3 separate regions of the Homo sapiens genome follow, and all the other regions are linked to region 3. Evidence: promoter capture Hi-C in 16 types of primary human blood cells and fetal thymus (Javierre and others, 2016). All regions are on one chromosome and are shown on one strand. The core of a region is centred on a gene start or on the middle of the fragment in contact, and the rest is flanking DNA. Distances in the headings are between cores, read along the strand shown.

Region 1 (2,700 bases), core at 109-2,608, 180 kb before region 3:
AAAGAAAAACAAAAAGTCCAGAATAGGCAAATCCATAGAGATGGACACAGATTGGTGGTTGCCAGGCACGGGAGGCAGGGGAATGAGTAGTGATCACTTCCTTTTGGGTTGATGAAAATATTCTGAACCAGTGGTGAGGATTGCATAATATTGTGAACATACTAAATGCCACTAATGGTAAATTTTGTTATGTGTATTTTACCACGATCAAAAAGTAATTTTTTTTTTTCAGACGGAGTCTTGCTCCGTCACCCAGGCTGGAGTGCAGTGGCATGATCTCAGCTCCCTGCAATCTCCGCCTCCTGGGTACAAGCAATTCTCCTGCCTCAACCTCCCGAGTAGCTAGGACTACAGGTGTGCCACCACACCTGGCTAATGTGTATCTTTAGCAGAGGCAGGCTTTCTCCATGTTGGCCAGGCTGGTCTCAAACTCCTGACCTCGTGATCCGCCCACCTCGGCCTCCCAAAGTGCTGGGATTACAGGCGTGAGCCACCGTGCCTGGCTCAAAAAGTAATTTTTTTTTTTTTAGACAGAGTTTTGCTCTTGTTGCCCAGGCTGGAGTGCAATGGTGCGATCTTGGCTAACTGCAACCTCTGCCACCTGGGTTCAAGTGATTCTTCTGCCTCAGCCTCCCAAGTAGCGGAGGTTACAGGCATGCACCACCATGCCCGGCTAAGTTTTTTTTTGTATTTAGCAGAGACGGGGTTTCACCATGTTGGTCAGACCAGTCTCGAACTCCGCCCTCAGGTGATCCACCCACCTGGGCCTCCCAAAGTGCTAGGATTACACATATGCACCACTGTGCCTGTTCTTAAAAAATAATTTTAAAAAATGTTATCTGCCAGATGTGGTGGCTCATGCCTGTAATCCCAGCACTTTGAGAAGCCGAGGAGGGAGGATTGTTTGCGCCCCGGAGTCTGAAACTGCAGTGAGCTATGATCGCACTACTACATTTTAGCCTGGGCAACAGAGTGAGACCCCCATCTCTAAAAAAATAAAACAGTCTCCAGCCTGTGTGCTATGCAATGGTGCTCTCCTGTGGGTGAGTCTTGGCAGGCAGTCAGACTCAAGATGATTGGGGTGCCAAGTAGAAATGCCATTCTCTGGTGGCAGGGGGAGTCACCGACTCAGTACTCTCACCCCCACGCTTGACCACGCGTGTGTGAAAGTGTTTTCCGGGAGGCAGCTGAGTGCAACAAAGAGGCCAGAGGCTGGTGAATAATTTATCAGGACAGCTGATAGTACCTCCCCAGAACTGCCCTCCAGCCCCCAGCCCCCCTCTCTGGTGTGCCTACCGCCTCCCTGGCCCAAACCCGCTGGACCTGCTCTCCCGGTGCCCGCCCGCAGCCCCCCCCCACTCCAGGCAGCCAAGTCACAGCCTCCGGGGCACCTTCAGGCAAGCGGGTGGTGGGTCCAGAACTCGGAGACCAGAAAGTGAACTTCTGGGCAGAGATGGCCCTGCAGAGCCAGGTGTGGTCTCTGGCCACACCCATGTAAGTGTCTGGGGGGTCAGGGGGGCTGGTGGGCAGGGCCTTGGGAGGGGCTCATGGGGGATGCTGGCCTTGTCTGGGAGCCGAGAGCTCCAGTGGTCTCTCCTAAGGGGACCCGGGGAGTGGAGGGGTTGGCTAGCCAACCCCATAGGCTCATCAGTGTCACCCTTCCTTAAAGAGTCAAGGGGTGGGAGAGAGATATAGGCTCCCCCTGCCCCTTCCTCTTCGGGGATTTTCCGCTGCCAGGGCTGAGAACCCAAAGTCCAGCCAGGGGGTGGGGCTACTGCTGTGGTGCAGGGAGTGGGGAAGGTCAGGGTCACTGGGTTCCACGTTTTGCCCCTAAAGTCAGTGTCCAAGGTGGGAGAAAAGGCTTGAGATCCAACAGAAGTTAAAAGCTCCCAGCCTGAGAAAGACAATGGCAACATTGCAAGGATGACCTCCTTCATGAAATGGCCACCAACTCTTGCGGGTGGCCAGAAGCCCAGGCCGCCTACGTTGTTCTTCCAGAGTTAGTTAGAGATAAGCAAGATGGAATGGGGTGTGTGAAGTCTTTTCATAGCTGAGGGGTGAGAGTTTTTTAAGGTTAAAAGGGTAGAGGGGGCTTCAGAGGTTTGGAAAGAGTTTTGGAAAAGGGGCTTCCCCCCACACTAGGGACCCCAATTCGGTTCCTCACCCTTCTAGGTCCTCCATTGCATTATTCACCAACTACAAACCTGGTTGCTTAGCAATGGGAACCCGATCCCCCCCAGCAAGGAAGAGGCAGGGAGATTACATCTTGGGGGTGGTACAGGAGACCACGGGACTTCAGCCCTCCCCCAGGGGCAAACCTATAAGCACAGAATCTGGGCTTCCTTTGGGATATCTTGCAAAGCATGACTTCGTGGCCGGGCACGGTGGCTCACGCCTGTAATCCCAGCACTTTGGGAGGCCGAGGCGGGCAGATCACCTGAGGTCAGGAGTTCGAGACCAGCCTGGCCAGTATGGTGAAACCCCATCTGTACTAAAAATACAAAAATTAGCCGGGCTTGGTGGTGCACGCCTGTAATCTCAGCTACTCAGGAGGCTGAGGCAGGAGAATCACTTGAACCCAGGAAGCGGGGGTTGCAGTGAGCTGAGATTGAGCCATTGCACTCCAGCCTGGGTGACAGAGCGAGACTCCGACTCAAAAAAAGAAAGAGCATGACTTCAATTCCTTGCCCCAAACAGCAT
Region 2 (2,700 bases), core at 194-2,693, 150 kb before region 3:
TCACCTGAGGTCAGGAGTTGGAGACCAGCCTGGCCAACATGGTGAAACTGTCTCTACTAAAAATAAAAAGATTAGCGAGGTATGGTGGCACACATCTGTAATCCCAGCTACTTGGGAGGCTGGAGGCACGAGAATCGCTTGAACCCAGGTGATGGAGGTTACAGTGAGCCAAGATTGCACCACTGCACTCCAGCCTGGGCAACAGAATGAGATTCTGTCTCAAAAAAAAAAAAAATAGTAGCACATGAACACACAACTATTACATTGTAGAGCTACTATCTGAATCCAAGTGGTGTGTCTTCTATGTCCACGCTCATACCTATCCTCCTTCTCACCATCATGAATATCTATTTGCCAGGTCCCTGCCCCTCATGAAGCTAGGTCTTCTGTTCCCTCTGACTCTCCTGATGGATCCCAGATTGTGCCGCTGCCCTGCTGAGACTCTGCCCTAATCTGTTTTGATTTAATCATACCACTTAATCCTGCAAGATTCAGGAACTGTGTCTCCCATTTGAAGATAAAGACACTCAGAGACTCTAATCTCAGCACTTAGGGAGGCCGAGGTGGGAGGATCACTTGAGCCCAGGAGTTCGAGACCAGCCTAGGCAACATAGTGAGACCCCTGTTTCTACAAAAAAAAAATTTAAAACTAGCCAGGCATGGTGTCAGGTGCCTGTGGTCTCAACTACTCTGGAGGCGGAGGCAGGAGAATCACTTGAGCCTGGGAGGTCGAGGCTGCAATGAGCAGTGATTGGGCCACTGCATTCAAGCCTGGGCAATGGAGTGAGACCACATCTCCAAAAAAAAGACACTCAGAGACGGAAGAAAAACCAACTTGCTGGGGAGAGGTCATGCATTAGGTGACAAACCCAGCTATGTGTATACCACACCCTTCACATTACCTGCTGGAAAGGGTTGGAAAACACTTCGGTGTTGTCTTTGCAAATGGCACGCTCCCCGCCCCCACCTGTCCTCAGACTTCCAGCCCCCATGGATGGCTTGCAACACCCCATCCCAGCTCTGCAGCTCTGCTAACTCCTGAGCCCTTGTTTCAAGGCTGGGCAGGTGTCCCTGGCTGAATGTGGCAGGACAGGGACCCTCCTCCTCCAGCAACCTCCTCTTATCTCTGTCCTTAGCTCCTGGGACCCATCCAGCCACCTGTTCCCCTTCTACATCCACTCTCTCCCCAGCCTCACCCATAGCCTCGTGGGCCAGGATGTCTGATCGTCTCCACCGGGAGCCCCCGCAGGTGAAGATGACTGCTCGGATGAATTCTCGGCCGCAAAGCCTGACCCCGTAAGGCGCTGCCCGGGCCTCAGCTCCCGGCCACAGCTCCCCGGTCAGCACCCATACCGCCAGGAGCAGCAGCAGCATGTACCTGGCCATGCTGGACGGAGATGCTTTGAACGTGAGAGTGGGCCAGTGTCTCTGCTGCCTCTTGGCCCCCCATTTATACATCGTGGCTCCCCCACACTCTGCCTGAAGAAAGCTGAGTGCCTCCCTTATCTTCTCCAGCAGAGGGGAGACAGGCACGGCCCCCCCAACCCGACCTTTCTCATGTCCCCAGCGAAGTGATAACCTTTCGCTAGGGACAGGGTGATGTGGCCCAGCTTATTGTCAACATCATTGACAGAGAGGCGAGAAGGTCTCCAACCTGCAGAGACCAGAAACGCATAATCCCAAAAGGCGGGGTAAGGTGACACAACCAGATCCCCACAACGTTAGGGTCCTGGACCTCTTCGAAGATCATAATAGCAGTGAACGCCCAGTGCAGTATGTGCTACGAGGCCAGGCACACTACTGTAAGCATTTTATTGTTTATTTGTTTGTTTGTTTGTTTAGATGGAGTCTCGCTCTGTCACCCAGGCTAGAGGTACAGTCCCAATGGCACAATCTTGGCTCACTGCAACCTCCGCCTCCCAGATTCAAGAAATTCTCCCGCCTCAGCCTCCCAAGTAGTTGGGATTACAGGCGCCCACCACCACACCTGGCTAATTTTTGTATTTTCAGTAGAGACGGGGTTTTACCACGTTGGCCAGGCTGGTCTCGAACTCCTGGCCTCAGGTGATCCGCCTGTCTCAGCCTCCCAAAGTGCTGGGATTACAGATATGAGCCACAGCCCTCAGCTGCTCAAAGCATTTTATATCTCTGTAATGTATTTGATTCTCCCAACAACCCAGGGTAATGGTTCTCAAATGTGAGTGAGCTTCAGAATCTTTGGGTAGGCTTGTTAAAACAGAAATCAGGCCAGGCGCGGTGGCTCACGCCTGTAATCCCAGCACTTTGGGAGGCCATGGCAGGAGGATTACCTGAGGTCCGGAGTTCGAGACCAGCCTGGCCAACATGGTGAAACCCCGCCTCTACTAAAAATACAAAAAATTAGCCGGGTGTGGTGGCTCATGTCTGTAGCCCCAGCTCCTTGGGAGGCTGAGGCAGGAGAATTGCTTGAACCTGGGAGGTGGAGGTTGCAGTGAGCTGAGATGGCGCCACTGCACTTCAGCCTGGGCAACAGAGTGAGACTCTGTCTCAAAAACAAACAAACAAAACACATATCTTTGTGTCCTACCTGCAGAGCTCCTGACTCAACAGGTATGGAACATATCTAAGAATCTGCATTTCCAACCAGTTCCCAGGTGACATTGATCCTGCTGGTTCAGAAACCAGACTTTTTTTTTTTTCTTTTTTTCAGAGACAGGGTCT
Region 3 (2,700 bases), core at 76-2,575:
GAGACCAGCCTGGCCAACATGGTGAAACCCCATCTCTACTAAAAATACAAAAATTAGCTGGCCATGGTGGCAGGCGCCTGTAATCTCAGCTTCTCAGGAGGCTGAGGCAGAAGAATCGCTTGAACCCGGAAGGCAGAGGTTGCAGTGAGCCAAGATCATGCCACTGCACTCCAGCCTGGGTGACAGAAAGAGACTCTGTCTCAAGATAAATAAATAAATACATAAACAAACTGGCTCGGTGCGGTGCTCACGCCTGTAATCTCAGCAGTTTGGGAGGCCGAGGTGGGCGGATCACGAGATCAGGAGTTTTGAGACCAGCCTGGCCAACATGGTGAAACCCCATCTCTACTAAAAATACAAAATTTAGCCGGGCATGGTGGCAATTAGCCGGGTGTGGTGGCGCGCGCCTATAATCCCAGCTACCCAGGAAGCTGGGGCAGGAGAATCGCTTGAATCCAGGAGGTGGAGGTTGCAGTGAGCCGAGATGGCGCCACTGCACTCCAGCCTGAGCAACAGAAAGAGACCTGTCTCAAGATAAATAAATAAATACGTAAATAAAATCAACTGCTGTTCTAAGCTCTCTCTAAGGTCTTCCCCTAACCCTTGGAGGTGGGTACTGGGGCTAATCTTACTTCACAGGGGGGCTCAGCCACTACCCTCGGACAGGTCCCCCCCAGCCACCTGTGCAGGCACCTGCTCCTCCTCCTCCTCCTCGGCGGTGGCCTGTGTCCTGTGTCTTCGCCTTGTCAGGCCGGACCAGCTTCTTGCCTGCCGAGTTTCGGGTGGTGTGGCTGTAGACGGAGGTGTAGCCCTGGCCAGTAAGTGGGCAGAAGCGTCGGGTGTGGGCGCGCTCACGTGTGGCGCCGCACTGGGGACACACGTAGTCCCGCAGGATGGGACACAGCACCCTGCCAGCCTCGTCCTTCAGCACGTGGGACTGGTAGATGGCCCGGGACTCGCCGTTGTGTTTGCAGAAAGAGCACAGGCGTTCGGGAGCTGGCGAGGACTCCAGGCTGCGCTTCTGATCCTTGGGTCCCGGCACTGGCACCGACTCCGGCGCTGGCATCGGCTCCAGGGCTGACACCGGCTCCAGCATTGGCTCTGGCTCTGGCTGGGGGCTCAGCCTGGTTTCAGGACCCTCTTTCCCACTCAGAGCCCTAACCAGGTGTGCCAAACCCAGGTAATCTGTCCACAGGTCAAAGGTCCCCATAGCTGGGCAGCATGTGCCAGGCGGAAGGAGTCACAGAGACAAGTAACCCTGCCTGGCTTAAGCTCCCTCCTTCTGACCCCTCTCTGCTGCCCCTTCCTTCCCCTCTCTGGAGCCTGGGAGTCTGTGCTGGCCGACCCTCCTTTTACCTCCAAGGGGGTGTGAAGAGGGAGGAGCAGGCTGTGGGAGGTTCCTTATTGTCACAGGGGGGCCTGGTGCCCCACTAATACTCCTCCTAAAGGGCTGTATGGCCTCTGGCTGTGCCGGGGGACTACAGGACACAGGGTGTGTGGGGGGGCATCCTGCGAGGTGCACCACAGCCCCCCGTACACACCTCCAGGGAATTGGGGGGCTACCCTGCCTCCCCTCCTTGTAGGAGTCCTTAGCCCTCCAGCCCCACTGGAGGATGGGGAGAATGGGTTGGAAACCCCACCCCCAAAGACTAGCAGTTACCAGTAACTTAAAGAAGTTAACTTAGTAACTTCTTTATAACTTTTTCTTCCTTCCCCTGGGCGGGGGAGTGGCCAGGTGCCCCTGGGTTCTTTGTGTGTGTGTGTGTCCAGGCGGGAGGTTGCTGATGCTCCAGCTGTCTCTGAAAGGAGTGTGGTAGTCCCAGGCTCATGGGCTGGTTGCGGGGGTAGGGGGGAAGGATCATGCCCCCCGGCCCCCAGCTCTGGTCTCCCTCCAAGAGTTTTCACATCGGTTGTCTTAGTGGAACCCCCATTGAATGGATGAGCAAACTGAGGTGTGAAGCCACCTGCCCATCCAGTTATTTATAAAGACATGCACCAGGCCAGGGAGTGGTGGCTCATGCCTGTCATCCCAACAGTTTGGGAGGCCAAGACAGGCGGATCACCTGAGGTCAAGAGTTCGAGACCAGCCTGGCTAACATGGTGAAACCCTGTCTCTACTAAAAATACACACACACACACACACACACACAAAATTAGCTGGGCATGGTGGCGGGTGCCTGTGATCCCAGCTACTCAGGAGGCTGAGGCAGAAGAATTGCTTGAACCCAGGAGGCAGAGGTTGCGGTGAGCCAAGATCAAGCCACTGCACTCCAGCCTGGGAAACAGAGTAAGACTCTGTCTCAAAACAACAACAACAAAAAGCACCACATCTGCCTCCTTCTTCTAGTTACTGGGGCCCCCTGAGGCTAGGTGCTGGGGAGGGAGCCCTTTCCTGGCGGGGGCTGCAGAGGGGTGAGAAAGAACCCTCTGGAGTTGGGAGGTGGGGGATAGCAAGTTGGGCTGTTAGGAGGGGACCCCTAGTACCTACAGGTCTTCAGTGTCCTCCCCGAGATGAGATCTCAGCTCAGTCCCAGGAGGGGAGGGTGTGCTCAGGACTTGGACACAGAGGAGAGACGCTGTGCCGCTTACACAGCTCATCCACCCATCCATTCATTTAAGAAACTTTTATTGGCCAGGCACTGTGGCTCATTTTGAGAGGCCGAGGAGGATTGCTTGAACCTAGGAGTTGGAGACCAGCCT

Evidence for each region. The method cuts DNA at HindIII sites, captures the fragments that hold promoters and counts their contacts. A CHiCAGO score of 5 or more calls a contact.
Region 1: a contact is called between the fragment with the promoter of PALM3 here and the fragment with the promoter of NANOS3 in region 3, in 17 of 17 cell types (total CD8 T cells, naive CD4 T cells, activated CD4 T cells and 14 more). The highest score is 14.6, in total CD8 T cells.
Region 2: a contact is called between the fragment with the promoter of RLN3 here and the fragment with the promoter of NANOS3 in region 3, in 16 of 17 cell types (total CD8 T cells, naive CD4 T cells, M0 macrophages and 13 more). The highest score is 16.0, in total CD8 T cells.

Annotation. Positions count from the first base shown.
Region 1 is chr19:14,060,734-14,063,433 of GRCh38, reverse strand. It overlaps PALM3 (paralemmin 3), which reads left to right and starts at 1,358. Exons shown (of 7, transcript NM_001145028.2): 1 at 1,358-1,494. The coding sequence starts at 1,454. RefSeq lists an enhancer at 863-1,417. The HindIII fragment of the contact is 17,434 bases long and covers 1-2,700 here.
Region 2 is chr19:14,026,891-14,029,590 of GRCh38, reverse strand. It overlaps RLN3 (relaxin 3), which reads right to left and starts at 1,443. Exons shown (of 2, transcript NM_080864.4): 1 at 1,197-1,443. The coding sequence starts at 1,386. RefSeq lists an enhancer at 617-666. The HindIII fragment of the contact is 35,410 bases long and covers 1-2,700 here.
Region 3 is chr19:13,875,759-13,878,458 of GRCh38, reverse strand. NANOS3 (nanos C2HC-type zinc finger 3) reads right to left here and starts at 1,325. Exons shown (of 2, transcript NM_001098622.3): 1 at 694-1,325. The coding sequence starts at 1,210. The HindIII fragment of the contact is 10,444 bases long and covers 1-2,700 here.